Linked DNA regions of Homo sapiens: all the other regions are linked to region 1. The links are contacts of gene promoters, found by promoter capture Hi-C in blood cells and fetal thymus (Javierre and others, 2016). All regions are on one chromosome and are shown on one strand. The core of a region is centred on a gene start or on the middle of the fragment in contact, and the rest is flanking DNA. Distances in the headings are between cores, read along the strand shown. Region 1 holds the start of NUDT15 (nudix hydrolase 15). Region 2 holds the start of COG3 (component of oligomeric golgi complex 3). Region 3 holds the start of GTF2F2 (general transcription factor IIF subunit 2).

Region 1 (2,760 bases), core at 31-2,530:
GGCTTGCTCTCTCTCCTCCTCCAACACACTGGAGAAAGAAGGAAACTCAGAGACAGCCAGGTGAGAAGAGGAGGAGGATACAGAAAAGCAGAACAATGGCTCACACCTCCTTTATGCACTGCAGGGGAGGGATTAGAAACTGGAAGTGACACTGAAGGTTTAAATTGGATTGGACTTTTAAATGCTTGGAAGTGAATCATACTGACCCAAATGTGATTTATTTTTATAACCAAGTGACAAGAAAACTATAGAATTTGCAGGAAACGTCACTGAAGAGGGAAAGAAAAAATCATGTTTGAAGGCAGTGGAAGGAGAAAATAAAACCATTTCCTGTTTGTTCTCCCATCAAATTTAGCCCACTGAGTATGCCAGTTATGTAAAGATCAAATGAAAGTATACATGCAAAGAGCTTGGCATATTATCCAGCCTTTAACAAAAAGCCCATTAGAGCTCAATGTTGGCTATGGTCATTGACCTCACGGGTGGATCACCTGAGGTCAGGAGTTCGAGACCAGCCTGGCCAACATGGCGAAACCCCGTCTCTACTAAAAATACAAAAATTAGCACGGCGTGGTAGCGGGCGCCTGTAATCCCAGCTACCAGGAGGCTGAGACACAAAAATCGCTTGAACCCAGGAGGCGGAGGTTGCAGTGACTGGAGATAGCACCACTGCACTCTGGCCTGGGCTACAGAGCGAGACACAGTCTCAAATCAATCAATCGATCAATCAATCAATCACATGGAAACGGTGCAATGTCTTAGCTGACAATATCGGGCTGCTGGAGGTTTACACACACCTGCTTTCCTCCTTTTGTGTGTAAGCTGTGAGAAACACACCTCACAGACGAACTCCCAACCACCACCCAGCAGGGGCGCAGCCGGAAAGACCCAGCTAGCAAAGACCTCGCCTGACCCAGCACAGCGCCCCCTCCTGGGCGCGATCCTACGTCGCCCAGAAGTCGAGGGGAGGAACCGAGGGAACGCGCAAGAAAGGACGCAGCGTCAGCGCGGACGTTCTCACGCACGGCACACGGAAGCAAGCACGGCGTGAGTTCGTCCCTCTGCGCACGCCCCGGTTTCCTCGCGTCCGCGGCTGCTCACCCGAACTCCAGATGACCTCCAGGGAGTTGGAAACTGCCAGCTCCAACCGAGCCTTTCCTCTTCCCCAGGAGGACGCAACGCGGATGCTTGCAGCTGGTCACCACGACTCCGACTCCGACTCCTGGCCGCCGCCCGCGCGGCTGTGCGCTGGCCGTCATAGCGCGCGGGAGGACGCGCCTGGCAGCGGCAGGAAGTGACGCGCTCACTACCCCGTCCCGCGGCCGCAGCCAATCTCTCCCCGCGAGGGCGGAGGCGCCGAAATCAAAGCGAGAGCGCCTCGGCCTCTCCAGCTGTCCGCGGTGCGTAATGCGTCGCGGAGGGCTATCAGGTTGGGGAATGCCGTGTTTCCTTCCGAAGGGCAGCGTGCCTTAGAGTTTCGCTGTAACTAAAGTCGCTTACAGTTGTGCTTTGAATATTCATCACCCGTCAGCCTATCCACTCCCAGATTCCTGCAAACCATGCATTTACATGTACAAGCCGCCTGCTCTTACCAACCTCGGCACCACTGCACATTCTTTTTTCCGTGAATGACCTCGCCCACCATGGTGCACCCATTTGCCCTGTAGCTCAAATCAGCGTGGTACCAGGATAAGGATAGGTCGTTTAGAAACATCCCATTATAAACAACTATGCTTAAGGTATATTCATAAGTCATGGGAGGAAATAAAGGCTAATTGATAAATCATGCTGGGAAGAGTTAGTTACAAACAGTGGAAAACAGACATTTTCAGATGTTTGCACACCATGCACCATGCAAAATACAAACCAGCTGAATCATAAAAACAAATGACTAGTTACTGGGAGGGTTTTCTCTCTTTCTCATTATTTTTACTTCTACCAAAGTAATGTGCACATACTGGTAATTTTATTTTATTTTAATTTTCACCAAGCTAGCTAATTTTCTTTCTTTTTTTTTTTTTTGTGGAGGTGGGCTGTCGGTCTTTTGTCGAGGCTGATCTCCAACTCCTGTCCTCAAGCAGTCCTTCCACTTGGGCCTACCAGAGTGCTGGGATAACAGGCGTGAACCACTGCGCCTGACCTATAGCTATAATTTTAAGAAGTAAAATGGTGCAAAAACCGCAACAAGAGCAACCTGACCCTCCTACTTTCAGAAACAATCACTTTTAACTCTTTGAACTGTATTTCTGATATTTGCCTACTTATTTCTAAGTAATATGCTTACTCTCCATGTTATACTAAATGGGTATTAAGCTTTTCACAGCATCTCTCCTCACTATCAACATTCACATTCATTACAAAGGTACTTACAATATCTTCTCAAAAAATGGTAGTATATAAAAAGGATAATATATTGAACAATGAGATTAATCCCAGAAATACTAGGTTGGCTTAATATTTGAAAAGCCAATGTAATTCAGCATATTAACAGAGGGAGAAAGGAAATACATATAATCATCTCAATAGATGCAGAAAAAAATTAATAAAATCCGATACTCAGTTGTGATTAAAAAAACTCCACAAAATCTCTGAGCAAACTAGAAATAAAATGAAACTTTAACATGATATATGGCATCTACAAAGACCTACAGCTAACATCATATTTAATGACTGTTTTGAGCTGAATTGTGTCCCCTCAAAATTCCTATGTCGAAGTCCTATCCCCCAGTACCTCAGCATTTGGAGACAGGATCAAGTTAA
Region 2 (2,700 bases), core at 178-2,677, 2.6 Mb after region 1:
TCCAAATCGTATAAAAAGAATGCTTCAGGCCAGGCACGGTGGCTCACGACTGTAATCCCAGCATTTTCGGAGGCCGAGGCGGGCAGATCACTTGAGGTCAGGAGTTCGAGAACAGCCTGGACAACAGGGCGAAACCCCATCTCTACTAAAAATACAAAAAATTAGCCGGGTGTAGTGGCAGGCACCTGTGATCCCAGCTACTCGGGAGGCTGAGACAGGAGAATCGCTTGAACCCGGGAGGTGGAGGTTGCAGTGAGCCGAGGTCACGCCACTGCACTCCAGCCTGGGCGACAGAGCGAGAGAAAAGAATGCTTCCAACATCAAAAGTAACCATCACCACTGCTTATATAAAATAATCCTCCTAAACCTGGCCCTCAAAACTGGAAAACGTTTGTCAAACATCTGACAATTCATGTTACTTCCTGCTATTACAACTAATTGAATTGAATCACACAAGAAGCAGTAGTGCATAATATCCTAATGGTAAGTGGATTAAACACATTGACTCTAACACCGAAAACCAGCACTGCTTAATAATGTACTGAGCCAACTTTCAAATAAAATTCATTTTTATTGCTTTGCAATAGGTGAAATAAATCTGATCTCCCATAACTTGCACTTGATTGAGAGCTCATAGTTCAATGTGCGATAAATGAAACTCACTCAGGACCAAGTTTTGGTCTCCCCAAGACCCCCATGGACAAAGCAACCTAGGTGAATCATTAAGGCGGTAAACGAGCACGCGCTGGAGACTGTCCTGCAGCACAGCACCTCGGGTTGACTGCCTCTCCTTCTGGGAGAGAGTGGGCAGCAGGATTACGCCTCGGCTGACAGGACGCCTCGTCTGGGGCAAAACGTTCGGTGCAAGGCTCCGGGCCAACCGTCCCATGCTGCTGGGGGAGGACTGGGTTCCGGCGAGCACCAGCTGCAGGACACCCCCACAGCCGTCCCCAGGCAGAATTAGAGTCGGGGTCGCAGGCAGAGCGAAGCCTGACAGCCTGGGAGATGAGGCCCCTCCCACCGGATCCGCCACCATGGCCAGGGAGGAGTGGAGAGATATCCTGGGCAGAGGCTAGTGAGGCCGGGGTCCTGCCGGGGCGCCCGAGGAGAATCCCAGCCCCATCGCCCCGGCCCGGTTCCTGCCCATCACCTCACCTCAGCTGGCACCGGCAAGTTCTCTGCCGCCGCCTTCAGCTCCAATACCGAGTCCGTCTGCCTGTCGGTCAGCGGCGCCGTCGTGTCCGGTCTCCGATCCCAGAGAGCCAGCTTTTCCCTAGCGTCCCGCTCCGCCGCCGCCTCAGGCAGCAGCAACAGCGCCGCCTCCGCCATCGCCGCCGCCCTCGCGGCCTTCAGCAGCAGCGAGATGGAGGGGACCCCGACAGAGAGACCTGGGCCACTTCCGGGAGAACCGGAGCTTCCAACACTGCACCGGCGGCGGGGCGGGACGGAATGCCCTGACCCCGGAAACGGTTCCGCAGTGTGGGGGGCGGGACCGAGGCCAGTACCGACGTGGCTTTAAATGGGTACGACTATTTCCGGTTGAAACGTAGAAGGTGGAGAAGACAGGACCCAATGGAAATAGAAATGCCCCTACCGGAAGTCTTTTCCTCAACATCAATAACTTTATTGTTACGTGTTGTACAGATTATTGACAACTGCGCTAAATCACCCTGCCGGCAGGAGACTTGGATCTACACCTCTCTGCTTACAGCTGGGTAGTCTGGGTAGAATGTGTGGAGTGTATGATTTCCATGTTGGCATGTTGACAATTTATGCCTCTTGGATCAAAACCAAAAGCATAAACTTTTCCAACATCCAGTAATTCCCCTACTAGAAAACTAATTTACGGAAACACATAAAAAATTCAAAGATGTGTGTATCTCAGACATCATTAATGGTATCAAATAACTGGAGACAACCTAAATGTCCAACATTGAAGAACTGGATCAAGAATTTGTGGCACAGACCAGGCGCGGGGGCTCAGGCCTGTAATCTCAGCACTTTGGGAGACCGAGGTGGGCGTATCACCTGAGGTCAGGAGTTTGAGACCAGACTGGCCAACATGGTTGAACCCCGTCTCTACTAAAAGCACAAAAATTAGCCAGGCGTGGTGGCACATGCCAGTAATCAGCCTGAGAGGCTGAGGCAGGAGAATCTCCTGAACCTGGAAGGTGGACGTTGCAGTGAGCAGAGATCTTGCCACTGCATTCCGGCCTGGGCATCAAGTGAGACTGTCTCAAAATGTATAATAATAATAATTTGTGGTACAGACATGTAATTCTACTCTACCATTTAAATCATATTGTAGATTTGAGCAACAAAATAAATAATGATAGTATTGGATCATAATTTACAGAATAAAATAAATACCCATGAGTCCATACTGCTATAAATAAACGATTGAATAAATAAATGGTGGAGAACAGACAATCTTCTACAAGTTATGGAGGCCTCTTCCTGCTCCTCCCTGGAGTCAAGGCAGGTGGAAACAGCTTCGTAGCAATTTTGACCATTGTCTGGGTAAAGTCTGAAGGCTTTATTCAGGCTTTATAGCACAAATCAGTGCCTGGCTATGTTCCCAAATGAAGGCTCTGATCTTTTAAGAGCAGAATTTGAGACCGGGCGCAGTGGCTCACACCTGTAATCCCAGCACTCTGGGAAGCCGAGGTGGGCGGATTACCTGAGGTCGGGAGTTCGAGA
Region 3 (2,700 bases), core at 123-2,622, 2.9 Mb after region 1:
GCTGCTGGAGAGAGAAATGCCTATTTAATCCATCCTTTTAAGTCACACTGAGTTTGGAAATAAGTCAAATGAGTGCCACAGACTAAGGCGAGGGCTGAAGAATGAGAGGTCATGCATTTATTCATCATCTATTTGTTGAGTAATTACCATGCGCCAAACACTATTCTGGGTATGACAGGCAAAGATCCTGTTCTCATGGAATGTGATTCTGTGTGTTGGAAAGACAGAGGTAACCAACTTTGAACATATGAACACAAAATCACTCTACACTGTGAAAAGTGCTTTGAAGAATGTAATACACATCTGTCGTGTTAGCAAATGATCACAAGGGGGCTGTTTTAGGAAGGCCGACAAGAAAGACCTCTTAGATTTAATTGACGAGAACTCAGCCATGTGATAAAACAGTTAAAGCATTAAGAAACCAAAAGTCCTTACATTTTAAGTTTCAACGACTTTCAGGATCACATTTTGAATATGCTTAAGTATTATGAAACTCCCCTAGGAGAAAACACTCCCCAATATGAAACAATAAAGCACAAATAGTGCTTACTGTGAGCTAACCAAAATTGCTGTCTTCACATAAAACGTTTATTGACGGCCAGTTTCACGAGACCCAAATGTGCTCTAAAAGAATACTCCAGTCCAATGACCTCTCCTTCTGTGAGTTTGGGGCTCTCTCGCCTCTTTTGAGAGCTTCATTAAGGACCATCAACCTAAGAGAACACTTTTAAGAGTAGGCAGGGACCAGTCCTACTTTCTGGCCGAGAAAACTGTACAGAAAGTAGACATTCAACTACCTCACGCAGGCTCATGGCTAAAACCAGTTTCACCAAGGGAAGATACAAGGAATTCTTCAGTCTGGGATAAAATGCACCGTCCAAATCTGGGGACACCAAGACAAGATTCCAGGAAAGCCGTGAGAAAGAGATCTAGTCCAGGCAGATTCAGAGTAGTAACTGGCTGAAAGACACTTTGCGTCCCTAAACTAATTCCTCGTCTGCAAACAGATACAACAATGACTCCTGCCTCTCAAAATGTGTGAAGCTCTAACGAGATAGCCGTAAAAGAACTTTAAGAGGCGCACGGAGCGGGATAGGCTCAAGTTACTTAAACTATACTTGTGTTAGGAGGAGCGCAAGTGGGAGACTCGCGAACATTACCTTGACTAGCCACACTCCTGTGTTCTGTTTGGCGCCGGTCAAGTCGAGTTCCCCGCGCTCGGCCATGGGTCTGCAGCCGGTGGAGGCGTGCGGGATGCAGCAGCGACCCCAGGAGCCGCAGGGCTGAGGAGCGGGCGTCCGGAACAAAGGACAAGCCGCGCTGAGAGGCGAAGAGCCGGCGTTCCTTACCTGCCAGAACACTGGGAACCGAGGAAAAGAGGAACACGCCGCCAGGAGCCGGGACTGCGCCTGCGCACTGCTACGTCAGTACGGCGCGCTGTTGCAGACAAACTTTCTGTTTCGGAAATTTCTTGAGTGGGCGTGGCTGTCCGCGATGTCTGCATCTGAGGGATTAAAACGTAGGGTGGGATGAGCTAAAACGTTAGCAATGTATTTAAAGACATGGTCAGCATAACTGAAGAAAAAGATTATCAGAACGGAAAAATGGGGTTCAAAGAGACGAAAGGTGTCAGAACATGTCCAACCCTAGCCAAGGAGAGAGAGACAATATTTGAAGGACAGGGTCAGGGTAGTAAATTGGCGTCCCTGGCCAACGTCATTAGCACAAATGGGCACTGGGATCAAACTTAGTAGCCTTGGGTATATTGAAAACATGCCGTTTCTAGACCTGGAAAAAAAAAAGCCGTGTTTCAGCTCAGAGGCTACCCGAGCTGTTCTGATGAAGCAAGCGGAGCACCTCAGTTTCCAAAACCCGGAAGTCTGTAACGAAACGAACAAGTAAGAGACAAACCTGATCGTTTCCTCCCCTGCTTAAACAGTTTTCTCTTTCTCTTATTGCCTCTAGAATAAAGTTCAATCCTCCTGCTTCAACTGGGCCCTCTCAATTTCATCTCTTTGCACCTCCCACCATCACTCCGCCATGCACCAAACCACATCAAACCCAGCAGACTTCCCTAAACACGTCAGAATCTTCGTCGGTCATTTCAGAGCCTCTGCACACTGGATTCCCTTCCCTTGGAAGCCCTATTTTACCCCTGCCCTCACTCTCACCCCTGTGCTCTGGTTGGCAAACTCCTACTTATGGTTCAAGACCAATGAAAATGTCACTTCCTATGAGATCTTTTATCAACTTCCCCAGAAGAAATTAGTTTTTCTTCACATCACAGTGTGATACTTAGCACTCTGAACTATAATATATATGTTTACATATCTGCCTTTGCTTTCCAGACAATGAACTCCTCCTAGGCGGAAAGAGCTTTATTGAGGTATAATTGACAAATAAAAAATAGTGCTTTATTCATTTTATATCCACAATGTCTAGCACAGTGTTTAACACATTGTCAGGTTTCAGTAGGCTTTGGGTGAAAGAACATTCGCTGAAGAGAAACAAACAGTAAGGTATTGTTAAGAATGGCAAGTAATTTATTGAATCACACATCAGAGCCTTGCACAAAATTGAGGAAATTTTATGTGTGTTCAGCATAGGGCCAGGAAAAGCTGTCAGAACTCTGCTTTTAGCTAGGAAAACTAATAGGAAAGATGGGAGAGACCAGGAGTGTGTTGAAGATGAAAGTTTCAG

Evidence for each region. Contacts are between HindIII fragments. The CHiCAGO score rates a contact against its expected background, and 5 or more counts as called.
Region 2: a contact is called between the fragment with the promoter of COG3 here and the fragment with the promoter of NUDT15 in region 1, in 6 of 17 cell types (total B cells, monocytes, activated CD4 T cells and 3 more). The highest score is 12.1, in total B cells.
Region 3: a contact is called between the fragment with the promoter of GTF2F2 here and the fragment with the promoter of NUDT15 in region 1, in 2 of 17 cell types (total B cells and non-activated CD4 T cells). The highest score is 6.2, in total B cells.

What each region holds. Positions count from the first base shown.
Region 1 is chr13:48,036,246-48,039,005 of GRCh38, reverse strand. It overlaps NUDT15 (nudix hydrolase 15), which reads right to left and starts at 1,280. Exons shown (of 3, transcript NM_018283.4): 1 at 1,102-1,280. The coding sequence starts at 1,259. LOC124903172 (a long non-coding RNA gene) reads left to right here and starts at 1,014. Exons shown (of 2, transcript XR_007063788.1): 1 at 1,014-1,400. RefSeq lists enhancers at 784-943, 994-1,233, 400-1,275, 1,276-2,152. The HindIII fragment of the contact is 6,950 bases long and covers 1-2,315 here.
Region 2 is chr13:45,463,666-45,466,365 of GRCh38, reverse strand. It overlaps COG3 (component of oligomeric golgi complex 3), which reads right to left and starts at 1,427. Exons shown (of 23, transcript NM_031431.4): 1 at 1,156-1,427. The coding sequence starts at 1,329. The HindIII fragment of the contact is 5,472 bases long and covers 1-2,700 here.
Region 3 is chr13:45,119,182-45,121,881 of GRCh38, reverse strand. GTF2F2 (general transcription factor IIF subunit 2) reads right to left here and starts at 1,372. Exons shown (of 8, transcript NM_004128.3): 1 at 1,161-1,372. The coding sequence starts at 1,226. RefSeq lists enhancers at 457-1,098, 1,209-1,338, 1,099-1,742. The HindIII fragment of the contact is 3,497 bases long and covers 1-2,700 here.